Linked DNA regions of Homo sapiens: all the other regions are linked to region 5. The links are contacts of gene promoters, found by promoter capture Hi-C in blood cells and fetal thymus (Javierre and others, 2016). All regions are on one chromosome and are shown on one strand. The core of a region is centred on a gene start or on the middle of the fragment in contact, and the rest is flanking DNA. Distances in the headings are between cores, read along the strand shown.

What was found. The method cuts DNA at HindIII sites, captures the fragments that hold promoters and counts their contacts. A CHiCAGO score of 5 or more calls a contact.
Region 1: a contact is called between a fragment that was not itself captured here and the fragment with the promoter of DSEL in region 5, in 5 of 17 cell types (naive CD4 T cells, total B cells, total CD4 T cells and 2 more). The highest score is 12.7, in naive CD4 T cells.
Region 2: a contact is called between a fragment that was not itself captured here and the fragment with the promoter of DSEL in region 5, in 1 of 17 cell types (monocytes). The highest score is 6.0, in monocytes.
Region 3: a fragment that was not itself captured here is called in contact with the fragment with the promoter of DSEL in region 5 in 3 of 17 cell types (total CD4 T cells, total B cells and naive B cells); the score reaches 7.3 in total CD4 T cells.
Region 4: a contact is called between a fragment that was not itself captured here and the fragment with the promoter of DSEL in region 5, in 2 of 17 cell types (M2 macrophages and monocytes). The highest score is 10.1, in M2 macrophages.
Region 6: a fragment that was not itself captured here is called in contact with the fragment with the promoter of DSEL in region 5 in 16 of 17 cell types (naive CD8 T cells, total B cells, naive B cells and 13 more); the score reaches 28.2 in naive CD8 T cells.
Region 7: a contact is called between a fragment that was not itself captured here and the fragment with the promoter of DSEL in region 5, in 14 of 17 cell types (total B cells, naive CD4 T cells, total CD4 T cells and 11 more). The highest score is 13.5, in total B cells.

What each region holds. Positions count from the first base shown.
Region 1 is chr18:68,687,473-68,690,172 of GRCh38, reverse strand. TMX3 (thioredoxin related transmembrane protein 3) reads left to right here. Exons shown (of 16, transcript NM_019022.5): 10 at 2,408-2,506. Among named protein-coding and RNA genes, the nearest start is that of TMX3, 26 kb to the left of the region's middle. The HindIII fragment of the contact is 8,208 bases long and covers 1-2,700 here.
Region 2 is chr18:68,763,983-68,766,682 of GRCh38, reverse strand. It overlaps a transcript of CCDC102B not described here. Among named protein-coding and RNA genes, the nearest start is that of CCDC102B, 33 kb to the left of the region's middle. The HindIII fragment of the contact is 4,499 bases long and covers 1-2,700 here.
Region 3 is chr18:68,747,145-68,749,844 of GRCh38, reverse strand. It overlaps a transcript of CCDC102B not described here. Among named protein-coding and RNA genes, the nearest start is that of TMX3, 33 kb to the right of the region's middle. The HindIII fragment of the contact is 5,566 bases long and covers 1-2,700 here.
Region 4 is chr18:68,838,321-68,841,020 of GRCh38, reverse strand. It overlaps CCDC102B (coiled-coil domain containing 102B), which reads right to left. Exons shown (of 8, transcript NM_024781.3): 3 at 2,095-2,315. Among named protein-coding and RNA genes, the nearest start is that of CCDC102B, 42 kb to the right of the region's middle. The HindIII fragment of the contact is 2,704 bases long and covers 54-2,700 here.
Region 5 is chr18:67,515,355-67,518,054 of GRCh38, reverse strand. It overlaps DSEL (dermatan sulfate epimerase like), which reads left to right and starts at 1,335. Exons shown (of 2, transcript NM_032160.3): 1 at 1,335-1,694; 2 at 2,563-2,700. It overlaps DSEL-AS1 (DSEL antisense RNA 1), which reads right to left and starts at 1,509. Exons shown (of 5, transcript NR_033921.1): 1 at 1,306-1,509. The HindIII fragment of the contact is 6,208 bases long and covers 277-2,700 here.
Region 6 is chr18:68,657,732-68,660,431 of GRCh38, reverse strand. No RefSeq gene overlaps it. Among named protein-coding and RNA genes, the nearest start is that of TMX3, 56 kb to the left of the region's middle. The HindIII fragment of the contact is 9,597 bases long and covers 1-2,700 here.
Region 7 is chr18:68,730,380-68,733,079 of GRCh38, reverse strand. It overlaps a transcript of CCDC102B not described here. Among named protein-coding and RNA genes, the nearest start is that of TMX3, 17 kb to the right of the region's middle. The HindIII fragment of the contact is 4,512 bases long and covers 1-2,700 here.

The sequences.
Region 1 (2,700 bases), core at 42-2,541, 1.2 Mb before region 5:
TAGGACTAGATGAGAGCAGTAGAGTTTTAATTGCTGAAATAATTCAAATGAGTAGAAGACTTTTCAATAAAAAGGAACAATTTGTTTTATTATAAGTAGCATTTTAATTGTTTTGACAGTCATAAGACTACATTTCTGATTTTTATTGTCTTTAAATAAATGTGAGAGCTGAATTTTATTTGTTTCTATAGATAATAACTACACACTTATGCTGTCATATAAAAGGTACTATCTACATACTTGACATTTTCATTTTATTTACAAAGTAATCTGTGAGGTAGGTAATAAGGCAGATAGATTAATACCCCAGGATTACAAAGGATATAGCTAAGAATGTTAGATAAGGAGACAGGTGTGTAATTAAATAGCAGGTTTATCATATGCTTATTCAGCCATCCATTAATTGGATGTTTATTGAATGTCTGTATTAGACGTTGGGCTTATAAAAGAACTTCAGAGAAACTTGTGTATTTGAAAATATGAGAAGGAAAATAATTTGTAGCCACACCTAGTCTATTCACCTGCTCTTTGCTTGCAGTACTCCTCATATAATAAGTACTTAATGTATGTGATCTTATATTTGATCATTACAACATTCCCTTAAAATCACTATTCTTACCATTTTACAGATAAAGAAACAGGATTAAAGAGATTTTTTTTCCACGATAAAATAATCAATGATATCAAAATTCAGTCTTCAAATCTCATGTTCTTATTCCACTATGTGTTTCTTAGCAATTCAGAGAGGCACTTTGTTTCTTCCTTTAAAAAAAAAAAAACACTGATCATATCTGTTTAAATATAAACATATTTAAATATAAACAGATATCAGGTTTTTGAGCCTGCCTAGGAAAGCATCCCCCTGTTATAGCTCAGTGTTTCAGATACATTCTCCCACGCTTAAGGAAGACAGGAATATGATATGTTAAGTTTCTGTAGGTATTGTAAAGGCCCCATTTCTCTAACCTGCAGTAGTATTTAGAACCTGCCTGAAACATTCAGACAAAGCAAAGGCTTTACTTTGAATCCTTATTTAAATATTTAATTGTTGCTAATGTTTAGAAGCATTGGAATAGGGACTTGGGAGTATATTTCCTTTCTTACATATATAATTTCAGCTTTTATTTTAGATTCAGAGTCTACATGTGCAGGTTTGTTACATGGGTGTATTGGATGATGCTGAGGTTTGGGGTACAAATGATCCCGTCACCCAGGTAATAAGCATAGTACCCAACAGGTAGTTTTTTTAGCCCTTGTCCTCCTCCCCATCTCCCTAGTGTCTGTTATTCCCATCTTTATGTCCGTATGTACCCAATGTTTACCGCCCACTTATAAATGAGAACTTGCGATATTTGGGATAGTTTATTTTCGAATGAAATTCAAATTGATCACTGTATGCAATCTCGTAGAAAATTTGCTTTTAGCATGCAGTGGACATTGTGGCCCAGTAATCAATTTCTAGTTTTATGTTTATTTTCCTAATTTATAAATTTAAATCAATAAATTCTTTGAGATTTGCATTGCATCACTTATTTTATGGGTTTGATAACTTGAAAATGTTTTGTTTAGCAATGCAAGAAAAAGCATACCTTTGAAGAGGTCATTAAAATCCATTCTTCAACCAGATGTATTGGTAGGCTTTTATAGACATTTGCTTTACATCACCACCTTTTTTATGCAATTGTAATAATTTTGAACAATTACTTGAGAATTACATTTCTAATTAGGATGTAATATTTCTCTTAGATATTATATTTTCTATCTGCTTAGCAGAGGAATTATTTTATATTGGAAAAAAGCTAAGGTACTATGATTTTATATGTGTTTGTGTTAGTTGTACCTTTGAGAAAGAGTTGTAAACTAGGAAGACTATCATAAAGAGAGGAGAGCAAAGAAATTGTAATAAAAATTACCTGTAGTGCCATGACCCAAGTATAACCATTGATTCAGGGAAACCATTTAGGAATAACTGACTTCATTTTATCATTCTATGAGTTTATCTTTTCATACTTTCTTTTACGAAGTTACAGTTATGCTGTTATGTATTGTATTGTAACCTGTATTGTTTTGTAATCTGTTCAATTATAAGTTTTTTTGAAAATTTATAAATGATCTTTATCGACATATACCAAAATTTATTTAAATTATTTCCAATTTAGGATATTTTGATTATTTCCTTTATTTTTAATTATTTTTATGCTATTTTTAATGATGCTATAATGAAGATTGCTTTGTGCATTAATCCTTCTGTACATTTGATTGTATGCTTGCAATAAATTCCTAAAAACAATATTTATGGAAGTATGATTCTCTGTCAGGCGTTTTATACCTATTATCAGATTAAAGCTATTATAACTCTTAAATTCATATTTATACTGTAATTTGTCAACTTTGTCTTGGTTTTAAGAGTATGAAGATGGTGATCTGTCATCATGGATCAACAGGGAAAGGTTTCAGAATTACCTTGCTATGGATGGCTTCCTCTTGTATGAACTTGGAGACACAGGTAACAAGCATATGTACAAGTCTCCATTATGTTACATGATTTTTCTTTGATTATTTAAAAATCTTATTTTGTAGGAAATGAATTTAAGCTCTATTTCTCAACTTAATTTTTTATTTTAGATCTGAATGCCAGTTCTTTACGAGAATGTAAACTGATATTACCAGAAGATATACCTTTGCATGTGGGTCAGTGAT
Region 2 (2,700 bases), core at 180-2,679, 1.2 Mb before region 5:
ATAAAGAAAGGGGCCACCAGACTCAGGAATTACTCTGACTCAGAACAGTACTTGGAAATTCCTGTGCTGTATGATCTGCTGCCAGTTACTTCAGATTTGAAACACAGTGCCTTATTAAGGACTAAATGAATGATTGTCTATGGATTTTGGTGGACCAGATATAACGAATACTTAAGCACTGTCCATCCATTGCCAACCCATTGTCCTCATCCCACACTTGACGTGGGTAAGAATTTCCACTTCTTAAACCTGCACATTTCTCGGGAATTTTTGCAAAGATTAACTAAAAACTGTAAGACCTGATTTTAGGGAATGATATATGGACATATCACTGGGTCAGATGCAGGATGTGTTACTTTCCTCAAATTTCAGTAATGTAGTCCTTGTTTTACTGTTTTTATACAGCACTTTGTCTGCTAATGGACCACAGAAGCAGAAGTAGCCCTATTTCTAATCTTGCTTCTTTGTCCTAGGAGTTATTTAATCACCCATCTCTATTTTACTGCATGATTCTAAGAAAAGAGAAAGATAGATACATGTATTATGATATTTAAGAATAAACTTAGACATTGCAAAAATAGGAATCAAAATAATTGACACCTTAAATTGCTACTTGAATGTATCTATGGTTAATTCTTATCTCCTATGAATTAATATGTTTTAAAATTTTTTATGGAAAATTTTGTTCAATTGGATTTTCAGTCTTTCCTAACAAGCCAAAACTGCTATGTCCTTAAAAGACATAACATTCCAGATAATGATTACATTTGAAAATCTCACTAGCAATCATGAGAGTCACACATGTGCATCAGCTGGGTCTAGAAAACTAAAAAAAAGAAAGAAAGAAAGAAAAAGTATGAGTTACATCAGAATAAGTCTAAGAATCATATATGTTATATTAAATATGGTTGATAGAATATTAAGTAATGATTATATCTGAGAAGCCATGCTAATAACCCTGTACACAAATCACCGTGATGCAAATGTTTTCCACTTTTTCCAATGTCAATTAATTTTTGTTCTTGCTAAATGTTACTGATGTATATAATGGTATAAGCAAATCTACAGAATGATTCCAAAAGGGGCTATAAGGAGATAGATTATGTAAATTTAAAAATTACTATAGTCCCTTTGGCTTCCACTTATTTTCTCTTTCTATTTCTTTCTCTTTCTTTCTTGCTTTCTTCTTTCTTTCTTCCTCTCCTTCCTTCCTTTCTCTCTCTTTCTTCCTCTTTCTCCTTCCTTCCTTCTTTCCTTTCTCTTTCTCTTTCCTTCCTTCCTTCCTTTCTTTTCTTTCTTTCTTTTCTTTCTTTCTTTCTTTCTTTCTTTCTTTCTTTCTTTCTTTCTTTCTTTCTTTCCTTCCTTCCTTCCTTCCTTCCTTCCTTCCTTTCTTTCTTTTCTTTCTTTCTCTTTCTCTCCTTCCTCCTTCTTTAGCTCTTTTTCGCTCTTTCTTTCTTTCTTGACAAATTCTCACTCTGACACCCAGGCTGGAGTGTGTTGGCACTATTATAGCTTATTGCAGCCTCAAATTCCTGGGCTCAAGCAATCCCCCCCACTTCAGTCTCCAGAGTAGCTGGGATGACAGACATGCACCACCATCCCCAGCTTATTTATTTATTTATTTATTTATTTATTTAAGAGAGGGTTTCACTCTGTCACCCAGGCTGGAGTGCAGTGACACAATTACCACTCACTGCAGCCTCGAACTCCTGGACTCAGGTGATCCTCCTACCTCAGCCTCCAAGGTAGCTGGGACTACAGATCCGTGCCACCACGCCCAGCTATTTTTTTTTTTATCATTATTATTTGGCTAGAGACAGGGTCTCATTATGTTGCCCAGGCTGGTCTCAAACTCCTGGGCTCAACTGATGTGCCTGCCTTGGTCTCCCATTATTTTCTTATTATGTCACTTGCCAAATAAATTCTAGGCTAGAAAGTGTTGATGGATATTTTAAAATTTATTTGTAGTAAATTAGCTAACCCAACAATAATAAATTTAATGCTAACATTTTCTTCTTGAATATTTGGAGGTCAAAAATGTTATAAGAGATACACTGGCATTCTTTACAAGTCTGCCTATAACCAAGAATTTGCTAGCCTGGTGGTGCCTCACATCCCTAAGTAGTTTGAAGGTTATTGTTTATGTTTTTATCTTTATAATAATTGGCTATTGTGAAATAAAGAACTTTGGAATTTAAATCAGAGGACCTGGAATACAATTTGAGTCTGCCATATACTAACTGGGTAATCTTGAAAAACTGAATTACTTTCTCTGAGCCTTAGCTACTTATCTGTAAAACTAGAAGTCATGCAAACTTTCCTCATAGGGTTGTTGCACAGATAAATTGGAATAATACATTCAAAGAACTGTGAGTCGCCATGCAATGCTCTTCTATGGAGTCAGCATGATGTTATTATTAGTAATCATAGTAGTGTTATATGGAGCAGCTGGAATAAAATCCATTGGAAAAAAGTATACGGAAGGGAAATAACAGAAAGGAAATGACAGCAAGAAATGTTGCCTTGTTGGAGGCAAGAGTGTAGTGAATCAAATTTCAAACAAAGAGTACTTAAGATCCTTGGCTTTTGAATGTTAAGATTTTGAATCTAAGCCCAGCTGTCATCATCATTATCTGTCTAATCTTGAGAAAATTCTCTCAATTTCCTGATTAAAAAAAGTAAGGGTAATGGAGTTCTTAT
Region 3 (2,700 bases), core at 10-2,509, 1.2 Mb before region 5:
GCCTAGGTTTTATTCTAGGGTTTTTATGGTTTTAGGTCTAGGAAGTTCTGACCAGGGCAATCAGGCAGGAGAAAGAAAGAAAGGGTATTCAATTAGGAAAAGAGGAAGTCAAATTGTCGCTGTTTGCAGATGACATGATTGTATATTTAGAAAACCCCATCGTCTCAGCCCAAAACCCCCTTAAGGTGGTAAGCAACTTCAGCAAAGTCTCAGGATACAAAATCAGTGTGCAAAAATCACAAGCATTCTTATACACCAATAACAGACAAACAGAGAGCCAAATCATGAGTGAACTCCCATTCACAATTGCTTCAAAGAGAATAAAATACCTAAGAATCCAACTTACAAGGGATGTGAAGGACCTCTTCAAGGAGAACTGCAAACCACTGCTCAATGAAATAGAAGAGGACACAAACAAATGGAAGAACATTCCATGCTCATGGATAGGAAGAATCAATATCGTGAAAATGGCCATACTGCCCAAGGTAATTTATAGATTCAATGCCATCCCCATCAAGCTACCAATGACTTTCTTCACAGTATTGGAAAAAACGACTTTAAAGTTCATATGGAACCAAAAAAGAGCCCACATTGCCAAGACAATCCTAAGCCAAAAGAACAAAGCTGGAGGCATCACACTACCTGACTTCAAACTATACTACAAGGCTACAGTAACCAAAACAGCATGGTACTGGTACCAAAACAGAGATATAGACCAATGGAACAGAACAGAGCCCTCAGAAATAATACCACACATCTACAACCATGTGATCTTTGACAAATCTGACAAAAACAAGAAGTGGGGAAAAGATTCCCTATTTAATAAATGGTGATGGGAAAACTGGCTAGCCATATGTAGAAAGCTGAAACTGGATCCCTTCCTTACACCTTACACAAGAATTAATTCAAGATGGATTAAAGACTTAAATGTTAGACCTAAAACCATGCATGTCCCATTCTTATTCCATTTCCCTCCTATGCTTTTCTCTGCCACACATTGCCAGTCAAATCCACTATTCTGGGTTATTTGGAGTTTATCATCCTACGCATGTTGTTATACTTTTACTACATAAATAATTTACACTTTAGAGTTCCATTGCAGAAAACAGAATCTGCTTTAGCTAGGTTGAAAAAGGGATGTCTTACTACATATTAAATAGCTTGTAAAACAGGAAGGGCTAAAGCACTCGGCTTTAGGCTATGTTTCCAGGAATGACTCCAGAACATATTACCTACAAAGCATTTGGGTAATGTGCTATCATTGCTGCCAGAAGTTGCTGATAGAGGAGGTTGCTATCCCTACTGCTGATGAAAGAATTGAAAATTACTCCGTTGGGAAAAGAGCTGTTTGAAACTGTCAAATTAGGAAATTTCTGCCACCATGCTGACTACAAAACTACCAGTTAGTAAAATGGATGCCTAGCACTCATCCTGTTTGCTCATGCTGTAGATTTTATATTCAGGTCTAATCTCATCAGGATGCATACAATGAGAAAATCCTCAATTGTATCTGGAACTCTAGTTCAGGCAGTCAGACAAGGGGTTAATATCCAGATTATATAATGGAATTCTACAACTCAATAGCAAACACACACACACACACACACACACACACACACACACACACACACACACACACCAGTTTAATAATGGACAAAGTACCTAAATAGATGTTTCTCCAAAGAAGACATATAAATGGCCATCAAGTATATGAAAAGGTGCTCAACATCACTAATTATCAGGGAAACGAAAATCAAAACCACAATGAGATATCATCTCACATTTGTCAGGCTATTACCAAAAGCAGAAAAGATAACAAGCATTTGTGAGCATATAGAGATAATGGAACCCTTGTAACAGTGTTGGTGGAAATTTAAAATGGTGAAATGACTAGGGAAAACAGAATAGAGGTTTCTCAAAAAATTAAAAATAGAGCTACTATACAATTCAGCAATCCCATTGCTGGGTATATAACTAAAGGCATTAAAATGAAGATCTCAAAGAGACATCTGAACTCCCATGTTCATCGCAACATTATTCACAGTGGCCAACACCCAACAACCTAATGTCCATTGCAAGATGAACGGAAAAAATGTGATATATACATATAATGATGTATCACTGTATTCAGCTTTGAAAAGAAGAAGGTCCTGCCATATGTGACAACTTGGATGAACCTGGAGTACATTATGCTAAGTGCAATAAACCAGTCATAGAAGGTGAAATACTGCATGATTCCATGTACATAAAGTGTCTATAATAGCCAAACTCATAGAAATAGAGAATAGAATGGCAGTTGCTAGGGGCTAGATGGGGATAGGAAGATAGAAAATTGTTGTTTAATGGGTATAAAGTTTAGGTTAGGCAAGATGAATAAATTTTAGAAATCTGTACAACACCATGCCTGCAGCTAACAATACTATATTATGCACTTTAAAATTAAAAGTTTGTTTCCAGGATATGATCCTGCAGAACATTATGTTAAGTAAAATAAGACAGGAAGAGAAAGACAAATACTCTGTGTTCTCCCTCATATGTGGGAGAGAAAGAAAAATATCTCATAGAAGTAGAGAATAGAATACTGATTATGACAGGATGGGAAGGGGAGCAGAGAAAGAGAACAGGAAAAGAATGGTTAATGGATACAGACTTACAATTAGATAGAAGGAATGAGTTCTAGTGTTCTACAACACTGTAGGA
Region 4 (2,700 bases), core at 156-2,655, 1.3 Mb before region 5:
CGTGGGATTGTTTCTTAAAAGAGGAGAGTAGGAAGACAAAGCCATGGAAAGCTTCCTTTTTTCTCTTATTCTTTGGCCTGTCTATGGATTATAGACTGAAGTCACTGAGAACTGCAGAATGTACTTACTCTGAGAATTGTTCATTTATTCCAAGAAAGTAAAAAGTATATGTTGTGTATATGTATATGGATAAGCGTGTTAAGACAGAACATGCATATCTTTAAAACTGACACCTTAGAATAGAAGTTTACATCTAGAAAAACACAGCTCTGCATTGCTCCTATTAGACTGCACTGGGGAAGTAATATTGTATGTGGGCTGGAGAGAAGTCTATAATTACCAAAAAGTTAAATGCTTCAAGAAGTAAAACCACGGAGATTAGAATGTGACTGAAATGTATAGGGCTAGATAAAATTGTCACTATGTGTACGAGCCTAAAAATTAAATTCATTTTTATTCTGTTTTCTACTAATGTTGGTTGCCTCTATTAGGAATTTACACTTGGTAGAGTAATAAATATTTATTCTGTACATAGATACTTGTATGATCACAATCTACTAATCTAGTGAAATACAGATGAAGAATCTGAAAAAGGGAATTGGTGGCACTAGTAAATTTCAGAGGGACTAATGAGAAACTTCTGGCAGAAAGTAAGTGGTAAAGAACTTACTGTATTTGTGAATGGCTAGCATGCATATTTATCCCTATTTCAGTCCATTCAAGCCAGGAAAATTAAAACTGTTATATAATATATACTTATATAATACATTGTGTGTATATATGCATACATATCCTTCTTGCTTTTCTGGTTCTGCCTATTAAGATTTTTATAACTAAGAGATAAAAAATAATTATTTTTAGATTTTGGAACCTTATTTATATATTAGATATTCCACATTGTGCTAATAAAATTGTAAGCTGATTGCATAGAAACGAAAATCCATATTGAACATTTCATATTACTATTCTCTTTCCCAGATGTTATTTGTTCTTGATCTTTATGAGAATTCACTGAGAAAGGCTATGACAGACTGTATTTTGCAAAGATCGTTGCCACAATGACTGCATCCCACACACCCTTATTATAAAATTGTTTTCACACTCCTTCCATTGAAAGTGCCTCTCTCTCTTTAATCTGAGTCAGACTTTGAGATTCTCACCACCGATAAGTGGGTCTGACTTTTGAGGCAGAATCATTCAAATGGCGTTTTCTTCTCTCTGTGTTCTTAAGATGTTCACTTGCAACCTAGCCCCAATGTTGTGAGGAAGCCAAGCACCCCCTTAAATAGCCCCAGTGCAGGTGTCCCAACTGAGGCATAGATGAAAACCGAGATGGACTGCCAGATATGAGTGAAAGAGGCTGCAGCCCCCAGCCTTCCATGCATTGCCAGCCTTTGAGCCCTTGCAACTGAAGGCACAAGTGAGAGATACAATGTCCATGCCAAGCCATGCTCGCGATTCTTGAACAGAAGACAGGGTGGTTGCTGTTGATATGTTTTAATGATAATTACTTGGAAAAGTTTGTTTCAAGATAATAGATAACTGGAACATAACAGCACTACAGCTATTTTCACAAAGGGGCAACAGCCAACATCACATAGCTAGAAGACATCAGACCAAAGATGAATATCCAGGCCAATTAAGCAAAAGCCTGATGCCCTTAATGGTCCATGTATAAGACTACTTTTTCTGTAATAAATATCTCACAAAATTGTGATTTTTCCACTATTAATATTAACATATTTATTCATTTTTACTGACCAAGTCCAAGATGCTGTCAAACTTAAATAATACACTGGATATTTTAACCTTGTACATTAAGAATTCATATACAATTAAAGTGAATCTACCAGAGAAGATAAAAACATAGTCATGATAAAAGTCAACTTAAAAGAATGGAAAACACTAACAAGTTATAAACTACATTTTAAAATTCAACATATGAATATATATCAAACTAATTTCTTTAAATCCTAAAACTTAATGACTAAACATGGATAAAATACATTATCAAATGACCAATCTATCTGTATTAACAATTTTAAGTGATTTGAAACTTAGACTTGGTTAAGGGAGACAATGATTAGCACTTACTCTCTTTCCTTCCATAAGATTTTTTGGAATTCATCCAAATGCACCTGCAAAGCTGAAATTTCAGTTACTTCATTTTCCAAAGGCAGATTTATTGCTTTCAGTCTCAGCCCAGTTTTCGTTTCACCGTTTCCAGAACCACCATTGTTGAATAAATCAACACCATCTAGATTGGGCTTCATCTCCTCACTTAATTTTAGAGAATCAATAACCACACCTTGTTCCTGAAGACAAAACAAAACAAAACATATTTAAACCTCCTGGAGAAAAATCATGATGACAAAACATTTTCATAAAGAAATAAATGTTACGATACCACAACCAATTCATATTTTTATTTCATTATCATTCCCTGAAAGTGTTGTGTGGCCACACTTACTTGCATTCTTCTTTGAGCTTGTTTTTTTCTATGTTCTACTTTCTCATAAAAAAAATACATTTCTCAAAAGTTCTGCTTTAACTCTTGTTTGTTCTCTTTTTCTAATCGCAGCTAAAAATAACTCTGCACAAACTTGAACAGCTGTAAATAATTTTTAATGAGTTGATGAATTCCTCTTTCAAGTTTCTTTTGTCATAAGACACTTACAGTTTCAAAGCAATCATTTTTTA
Region 5 (2,700 bases), core at 86-2,585:
CTATTTGGACTGGGCTAGGGGTTACTACGGGGCCAAAACAGAAGAGTGATGAGGAGTTAGAGGCCACATTTCACCTCAAAGTTAAATGATTTGAAATTTATTCTGCTAGCAGTCGTCTACTGTTTGATTTTCAGCAGCAAATGATCTAAGCAAGACATTTATTTTTAAAATGTTAAAATATATCTTATTAAATATTACCAAAATAGTATGGGAAATGAAGAGACTGAATGTGTTACTAATCCCCAACTGAGAATGGAATTGTTCATTTGTGAAGCTTGATATTTCCCTGTATTTTTATTACTACTAAGCTATTATTTTTTACATTTGAGGTCAGAGCTTGGGTTGGTTTATGCCAAAGTGTCATCTCAGCTATCTGTGAGAAGCTCCATGTGTGGAGTGCAACAGGAGTCCCAGCCTGCTCTAGGATTTCCACGACCTGGCACTGCACTCACATGTCGTAGTAGCCGGGGCACACTGCCTTCTCCTGTCTGCATGTAGGTCTTTACCGAATACCAGGTCCCATTTTTAAATAAGAGGCTCCTTCTACTTGTTTGTCCCATGCTTCCCCTATTTATACTGCCTGAGAAATTGTTTTCCATCAGTAAAGCTGATTAGTCTTTTCTGTTTTCCCTTGATCTTTGTTAGCATCTGGGCTACAGAAGTTGTCCTCCTATATTAATCTGGGTATTTCGGTTTTGCTTTTCCAAAGGACAGCAAGCTCAGCCAGGCTGCCTCTCAGTTCCAAGGGAGTGCTCATTCCCTCCTTCCCCAGCCCTTGCTCTTTCCAAAAGGATGATTTCTGTCGTCCCAGGGCTTATCCCCTCCCACTCCAGCTCCTCCCATCATTTGAGTCAATCCCACAGCCCCCACTATGGCTCTATTATATAGTTGTCGTCTTCCCATAACCAAAAGGTTTTAACGCCAGCCTGGCAGCGTCTTTAGACTCTCGCACTCCCAAACTGTCCCCTCCTCCAGCTCGACTCCTCCGGGAGCGCGCGGCCACCGCTGCAAGCCCAGAACACAAACGCCTAGAGCTTCCTCCGCTTAGAAACCCGGGGCGCTTGGCCCCGCCTCACCTGCTTTCGGCCCCGCCCCGCCCGCCGCCGGCCTGCTCACGGCTCCTCCCGTCCTCCCCGAAGCCCCGCCTCTGACCCCGCCCTGTCCTGTCTCCGTCCCGCCCCACGCCCGCCAGCCAGCGTCGCTGTCTCTCGCCTTCCCTGAGGCCCCGCCTTCAGCCCCGCCTTCAACCCCGCCCCGTCCTGCCTCCGCCCCGCCCCCGCTTGCCGGCCCGCGTCGCCGTCTCACCCTCCCCGGGCTGCGCGGCCGGAGCTGGCACAGAGGATCCTCGGCCGCGGCGACATCACCGCCTGGGCACGCGGGCGCTGCTCTGGATACGGCGCCACCGAGAGAACCCGCCGCCCGCGGGTCTCTGTCCTGCGGTCCGTGGTTGCCCCCACAAGCGTCCGGCGTTTCCTGAGGGCGGGCGTGTCCGGGCCGTGCGGGTCGCGGGGACCGAGCGCGGCTGAGGAGACCGAGCTGGGGCAGCGCCTGCCGTAGCGCGGGAGACGACGCGGGGGTCTTGCGGAGCCCCGCGGGAGCCTGGCCCGCCGTGCAGAGCAGTTTTCTGGAACTCTCCACCTCCGTCTCCCTTGGGGCCCAGTGCGGCGCCGAGCCCCCGTCGGGATCTGCCTGAGGTAAGCGGACTTGGTGGCTCAGGGGTCTCTCGCCATCCTGCCTCACTCAGCCCCAGAGCGGGGAGCGGAGAATGGGGGCGGCAGGGTCGGAGGACGCCAGTGAAAAAATGCAACAGGCGGGGCGGATCAGGAAACTCCTAGCCTGAATGTTTCCTACAGAGGGGAGACTTGTCCAAGACTGAAACTTGCTTAGGTTCTTCCAGCCGCGGACGGGCACGGAGAGGCGTCTTTCGACACCGGGGTCCGAGCTCCCTCTGGCGGCTCCACCTGAGGACAGGGACTCGGCCACAGGTGAGCGCCGAGCGCGGAGCTCCCGCCCCTCGGCTTGGCGCCTGGTCACGATTCGCGGTTACCCCGCCGAGAAAAGTGACTGGTCCGAGTAGTTCTCATTAGGAAGATACCTTCTGATCCCATGAACTCTAAACCTTCCCCCGGAATTAAAAAAAAAAAAAAAAAAAAAGATCTTTTCAACTTTCAGTTTTTTGTCCCTCGGTCCTTGGGAACAAGAAATAACAAGGATAGCAGGACTCATCTTTGTGTAAACTGCATTTGAATACAAACATTTTTTAAGTGACTGAAGCCACGTTAGTGGCGTTAAACTATAGATATTGTCGGGAGAGTTCTATCTTGTATATTTTGTATTGTTAGTTGCTTGTCTTCTGCTGACGGTCACTGGTTTCCAAATAAGTGCGTGTAAATGGATAAGAAAAAAATCACTTGCCCTAGCTTAGGTTGCAGATAATATGAGATTTTACTGTGATTCTAAAATTTCTATTAAGTGATTGCAGAATGTTTAAGTCATCAGTTTATATTCATTCTCAGCATACCTGAAGCCTCAGAGAATTTTTATTTTGTCCCCCATCCCCAGAAAAGTGTCATGAAAAAAGAGCAGAAGAGAGACCTCACTGTTGCTGAAAGGGGAATTTTCTTTCCCCGTTGGCGGTTACTTCATGATCGGACGAGAAGTATCTAGGTGACTGAAGATATTCCATTTTTATGTTTGTAC
Region 6 (2,700 bases), core at 94-2,593, 1.1 Mb before region 5:
TTAAGAGCTCTTCAAAAATAGGATACAGGCTGGATTCAGCTTGCAAGTTTTCCTGGTATAGAGGGAAAAAGTACTCACCAGGTCCATAGTCACATGCCAGATACAAGGGGATGTGTGAATTTCCTCTAGCAAAGCCACATTTGGAACAACAGCTGCAACTGGAGTCCCCATCTGATTAAATTTTCAATAATCGGCTTTCATTCTCCAATATCCATTTGCTATCTACACAGACAAAATAGATGAATAGAATGGAATCCCCACCCCTGCATCTCTCGAGTCCTTGATGGTGGCAACAATCTCTGCACTCCAGGAATGTGTACTACCTTGGGTTTACTATTGTCAAAGGCAGGGGCCGTTCCAGTGGCTTCCGTTTTGCTCTCTTTTCACTCCATGGTCAGGTACACACGGGAATTCTGCAAGTTATTTGCAGATGCTGTAACCATTCTGGTGCTAGGAAAATAATCAGAAGGTGGCCCACTGTGAGGCAGACTCCAGCTAACACTCCATCAGTTATCTGACAGCCACAATTTCCTACTCTGACCGGTGACCACAGGAAGTATTGTCAGTTTAGAACCATGAAATAAATCCTATAATTCCTCAAGATCTGATCATTTTTTCTTACCCAAAGCTGTCATTATGTTAAATAGATTGAGTCCTTGGGTGGGATCATAAAGAGGATGATTTGCAGGTGTAAATTATTTTTGTTTTGCTATGCAGCAGTGTCTTTTTTTCAATGGGATGGCTTCAGGCTTTCTTCACCCTGCCTCAGGGGTAAGAATTTGGGCACAGGGCAGCCATTTCAGCGGCTTTGAGTGTATGAAATGTAAATTAATTGAGGGACATGACTCTCATTTTGGTTATTCAATTCAGACTTCAGTTCAACAGACTACAGCTTTTCCGCTTAATCAGGCCAAGTAAAATTTCACTGGACTGTCCATCAGTTTCAGTTCTAGTTTGACTATCAGACGTTATACAATTGGCCATTCCAGTAACTCACCTTGTCTTCAGTGACTAAGTGCCCTCACTTGGCTCTGTTGGAGCTCAGGAAATATTAATAATCCCCTTAAATATGCCGCTTTGGACTTCAAAATGAGAGCTCCTAGGGAACAGCAAATGCAGGGATGGGCTTTCCCTGAAGTATTCCCATCTACTAAAGGCCAGATCCTCCAGAACATAGTCAATTGTTGTGAATCCCTTCCCCAGATGTCTTATCAACAGGGTGAGACTGAGGCATATCACAGAAAGAAGACTACAGTTGACACCACACCTAGAGTCCAGATGACTTTGTACCAGATGGTTGTCTGTTTTCCAGGCCCACTCATCTGCTCTAAAAGTTATTTTCTCCCCCTCTAACATGTCTTCATCCTCTACTCCTTCTCCCGATGAAGAAGGGCACATAGCCTTCCAAATTCCATTGTTATGGAGTCCTCAGCTTCCTGTGATGCCCCCGTGCACATAATAAATGTGTTTGCCTTTTTCCTGTTAATTGGTCTATTGTCAGTTTTTCTGTCAGACTCAAATATTAAAACTCCAGAGGGGAAAGAAAGGATTCTTTTGTTCCAACAGCTCCCAACAGCTTCCGCCATCCTGGAATCCCATTCCTTCTCTTGGGTAGAGAGCCCACTTCAGTGTAGCAGTTTCCTTGTGATTTCCGACTTACAGAAGAGAGAACTCTTCAAAAATGCTGGAGCTTCCCCCTTGAGTTGATTTCTCACAGCTGTGAGGAAAGATATGTCTTCTAGGTCTTTCCAGAGCAGGTCATACTTGATAAATCCACACTAACATTCCAATATCCCTAGACCTTTATTTAGACAGCTGTATTTAAAGACAGCTTTATTCATATACCATAAAATTTAACCTTTTAAATTGCACAGTGTTGTTGTTTTATTTATATACATTCCCATACTTATGTAACTGTAACCACTACCTAATTTTAGGATATTTCATCACATCAAAAGGAACCCTGTTCCCATTAGCAGTCACTCCCTTTTCTTTATATTCCTCATCCCTCACCAACCAGCCCTAGGCAAACTTTAACCTATTCTGTATGAAGGTTCCAATTTATTCAAATCCTTGCCAAAACTTATTGTTTGTCTCTTTTATTTTAATCATCTTAAAGGGTATAACATGTCGTCTGTAGTTTTGATATGCATTTCCTTAGTGACTAATAATTTGAGTATCTTCTTATGTGCATGTTGGCCACTTGTCTGTCTTCTTTAGATAAGTTTCTATTCAGATCCCTTGCCCATTAAAAAACTGGATTATCCTTCACTTATTAGGTTTTAGGATTTATTTATATTTTGATACAAACCCTTGGGTTTCAGTCAATATGAATGGGCAAAATAATGCCATTCTTTCAGTTGGCCTTATACCTCCTCACTGGTCACACGTAAATTTTCATAAATTGGGGCCTGTTGGCAACTACCTCCAGGAAGGAGGTAACTACAGGTGTTTTTGGCCAAAGAGGACAAACTTCTGCACAGAGTTGAGAAAGCTGCTTCTACCAACAAAGGGTGCTCGGTGGGATTCGGTGTTCGAGGTGCCCAGTTTAATCAGAATCTCTCCACATGTTCTCACGCCAGTTTTCAGGATTTCATTCACTCTCAGTTCAGTAACCCAACTTCAGCAAAAGAGGATCTCATTTTCTTTTCCCAAGTTCTCCACTTCTAGCAGCAATAAATCCATCCAATTTTACCTATT
Region 7 (2,700 bases), core at 8-2,507, 1.2 Mb before region 5:
TACATAAAGATCATTAACTGAGTCTACTTTTTCTCTGAGTCGCTCTAGCCTTAGCATAACCTTCCCCACCAACTTTTCTATCTTTCTTTTTCATATAGTTCTCCTTATACATTGGATGTCTTTATTTTGTCCCTAGGCTAAATCAGTCTATGGAAGTCCGCAGCCCAGGAATCTGGAAGGGAGCTCCACACTTGTGCGATGGATGTTTAGCCATGATGGTCCCTGGTCTGTAAAACTTGTAACTGGCATAGCAAGGATGACTCAAAATCATAGTTTTTTAATACATAGATCTGGGAACTATGGTATCCTAAAAATTTTAAGAGAAAACTGGAAAACCTTAACTCTAAATAGATGAATTCATGTTGTCTGCAGGCAGGTGAGGGTTACAAAAGAAAGATCACTATGAGACATTTCTGTAGAAAGCCTTCAAGTAGGCCGGGCGCTGTGGGTCATGCCTGTAATCCCAGTACTTTGGGAGGCTGAGGCAGGCAGATCGCCTGAGGTCAGGAGTTCAAGACCAGCCTGGCCAACATGGTGAAACCCCGTCTCTACTAAAAATAAAAAAAAATTAGCTGAGCATGATGGTGGGTGCCTGTAATCCCAGCTACTCGGGAGGCTGAGGCAGAGAATTGCTTGAACTTGGGAGGCGGAGGTTGCAATGAGCTGAGATCACGCCACTGCACTCCAGCCTGGGTGACAGAGCAACACTCCATCCCAAAAAAGAGAGAGAGAAAAAAAAAGAAGGCCTTCAAGAAATGCCAGATACACATTTCAAGGAATAAGACTTCAAGCTATGGTTATTATTAACCAAACAGTTTATGGTATCCACCATAGAAATACTAGAAATAATTTAAAATACACAGGGCGATAGAAGAAAAGCCCTGTGCTTCCATAAAAACTGGCCCACAGGAAAGAGATTGAAGATTCCCCCCTGAAGCAGTGTATTTTACTGAAATTAACTTCTCCATTTTCTGAACTTTAATGTTTGAGTAACTCAAAATATATCAACATGAATAAAGTTCCTCAGAGTAGAGTACTAAAGCCAAAGGACTGAGAAAGGACTTTTATGTGAGAAAAATAGTCAGTATTTAGCAGATGCTATAACTTAAATCTCAATAACTGTAAGCCATTCTCCTTTGATATGTGTTCAGTTTTATAAAAATAAATAAAGATTTATTTCCTCCAAAAAGAGCTTTGCTTGCACTAATTCGTACAATTTTCTGTACTTTTACTGAAGTAGAAATGGTGTTCAGAGATTTCAAAATCTCAAGACTATTGTCTGTCTGAAGAGTTTTGCTCCAAATGAATTTGACAACTGATATATAACTGAATGAGCATTATTGTATAGGAGATCATATAACATATATTATATTATATACACACATAGACAAAATTGTTTATATCATATATGTATACATACATATACAAAATTGTTTATATTATATTATATATGTATACATACATATATAAAATTGTTTATCCCTCTGGCCACTAAAATGACCTTGAGGCAATGGAACCTCAGATGGGACCAACCTAATATGCAAATGTAGAGTCCAGATTATAGTTCCTCAAAAATCAATTTTCCATGAAAAGAAGCCAGGGTATTTTGGAAGGATCACGGATTCCAAGTCGGGGGAAGGAAAGGATAAGGGAGTGTGCAAGTTTTCATATAAGCCAAAGTTTCATTCAAGGGTTAATGGAATCAGATCAAAAGGACACAGGAACTAGATTATAGGGGTTTGTGATCATCTCAGCATCGAAAATAGAAAAATACTTATGGTTAACTCAAATACATTAAATCTATGTGGTGGCTCACCTCTGTAATCCCAGCACTTTGGGAGGCCGAGGCGGGCAGATCATGAGGTCAGGAGTTCAAGACCAGCCTGGCCAACATGGTGAAACCCTGTCTCTACTAAAAATACAAAAATTAGCCGGGGTGGTGGCGCATGTCTGTAGTCCTAGCTACTTGGGAAGCTGAGACAGAAGAATCGCTTGATCCCGGGAGGCAGAAGTTGGAGCGAGCCAAGATCGCGCCATTGCACTCCAGCCTGGCAACAGAGTGAAACTCCGTCTCAAGAAAAATAAATAAATAAAATTTAAAAAATAAACATCTTAAATCCATAATGACCAGCCCAAATAAATATTAATTTAAATGTGCCAAAGAAGATCAAGATATCAGAATATTTCTGCTGAAATCTTATTACTCAGTCCTTTTGATACTGTTGATACCTTTCTTATATTGATACAGGATGCGGAATACAGTTCAGTATTAAATACATCATGTAGAAGACATTTTCTGACTCAAGGGATTGACTTCTTAAGTGTGACATTCAGTCAGATGAAGATATATGAGACATCCATAACCAATCTACTATTACTTTTTAAATCAGTAGGATTTGCCTACTTTAAGTATATGAACGAGTGTGAGATTACATTAATGTTTAACATTTTTAAAATTCAGGGAAAAGATGATAACAGATCATAAGTGTTCTAGTCAATTGCTTATCTTGAGTAAGCTGCATCTATCTATCAGCAGACAGAAGTATTACATGAGTGGGTCACACTGTTGAAATTATGAAAAAATGGCATAATAACTACAAATAAGGTCCAAAATATTTCTTCGGAGTCCTGGAAAAGTATCTAAGTGATCCTCTTGGACTAAGTCTATAAAAATGAATAACCTAATTAAATGTAATATTA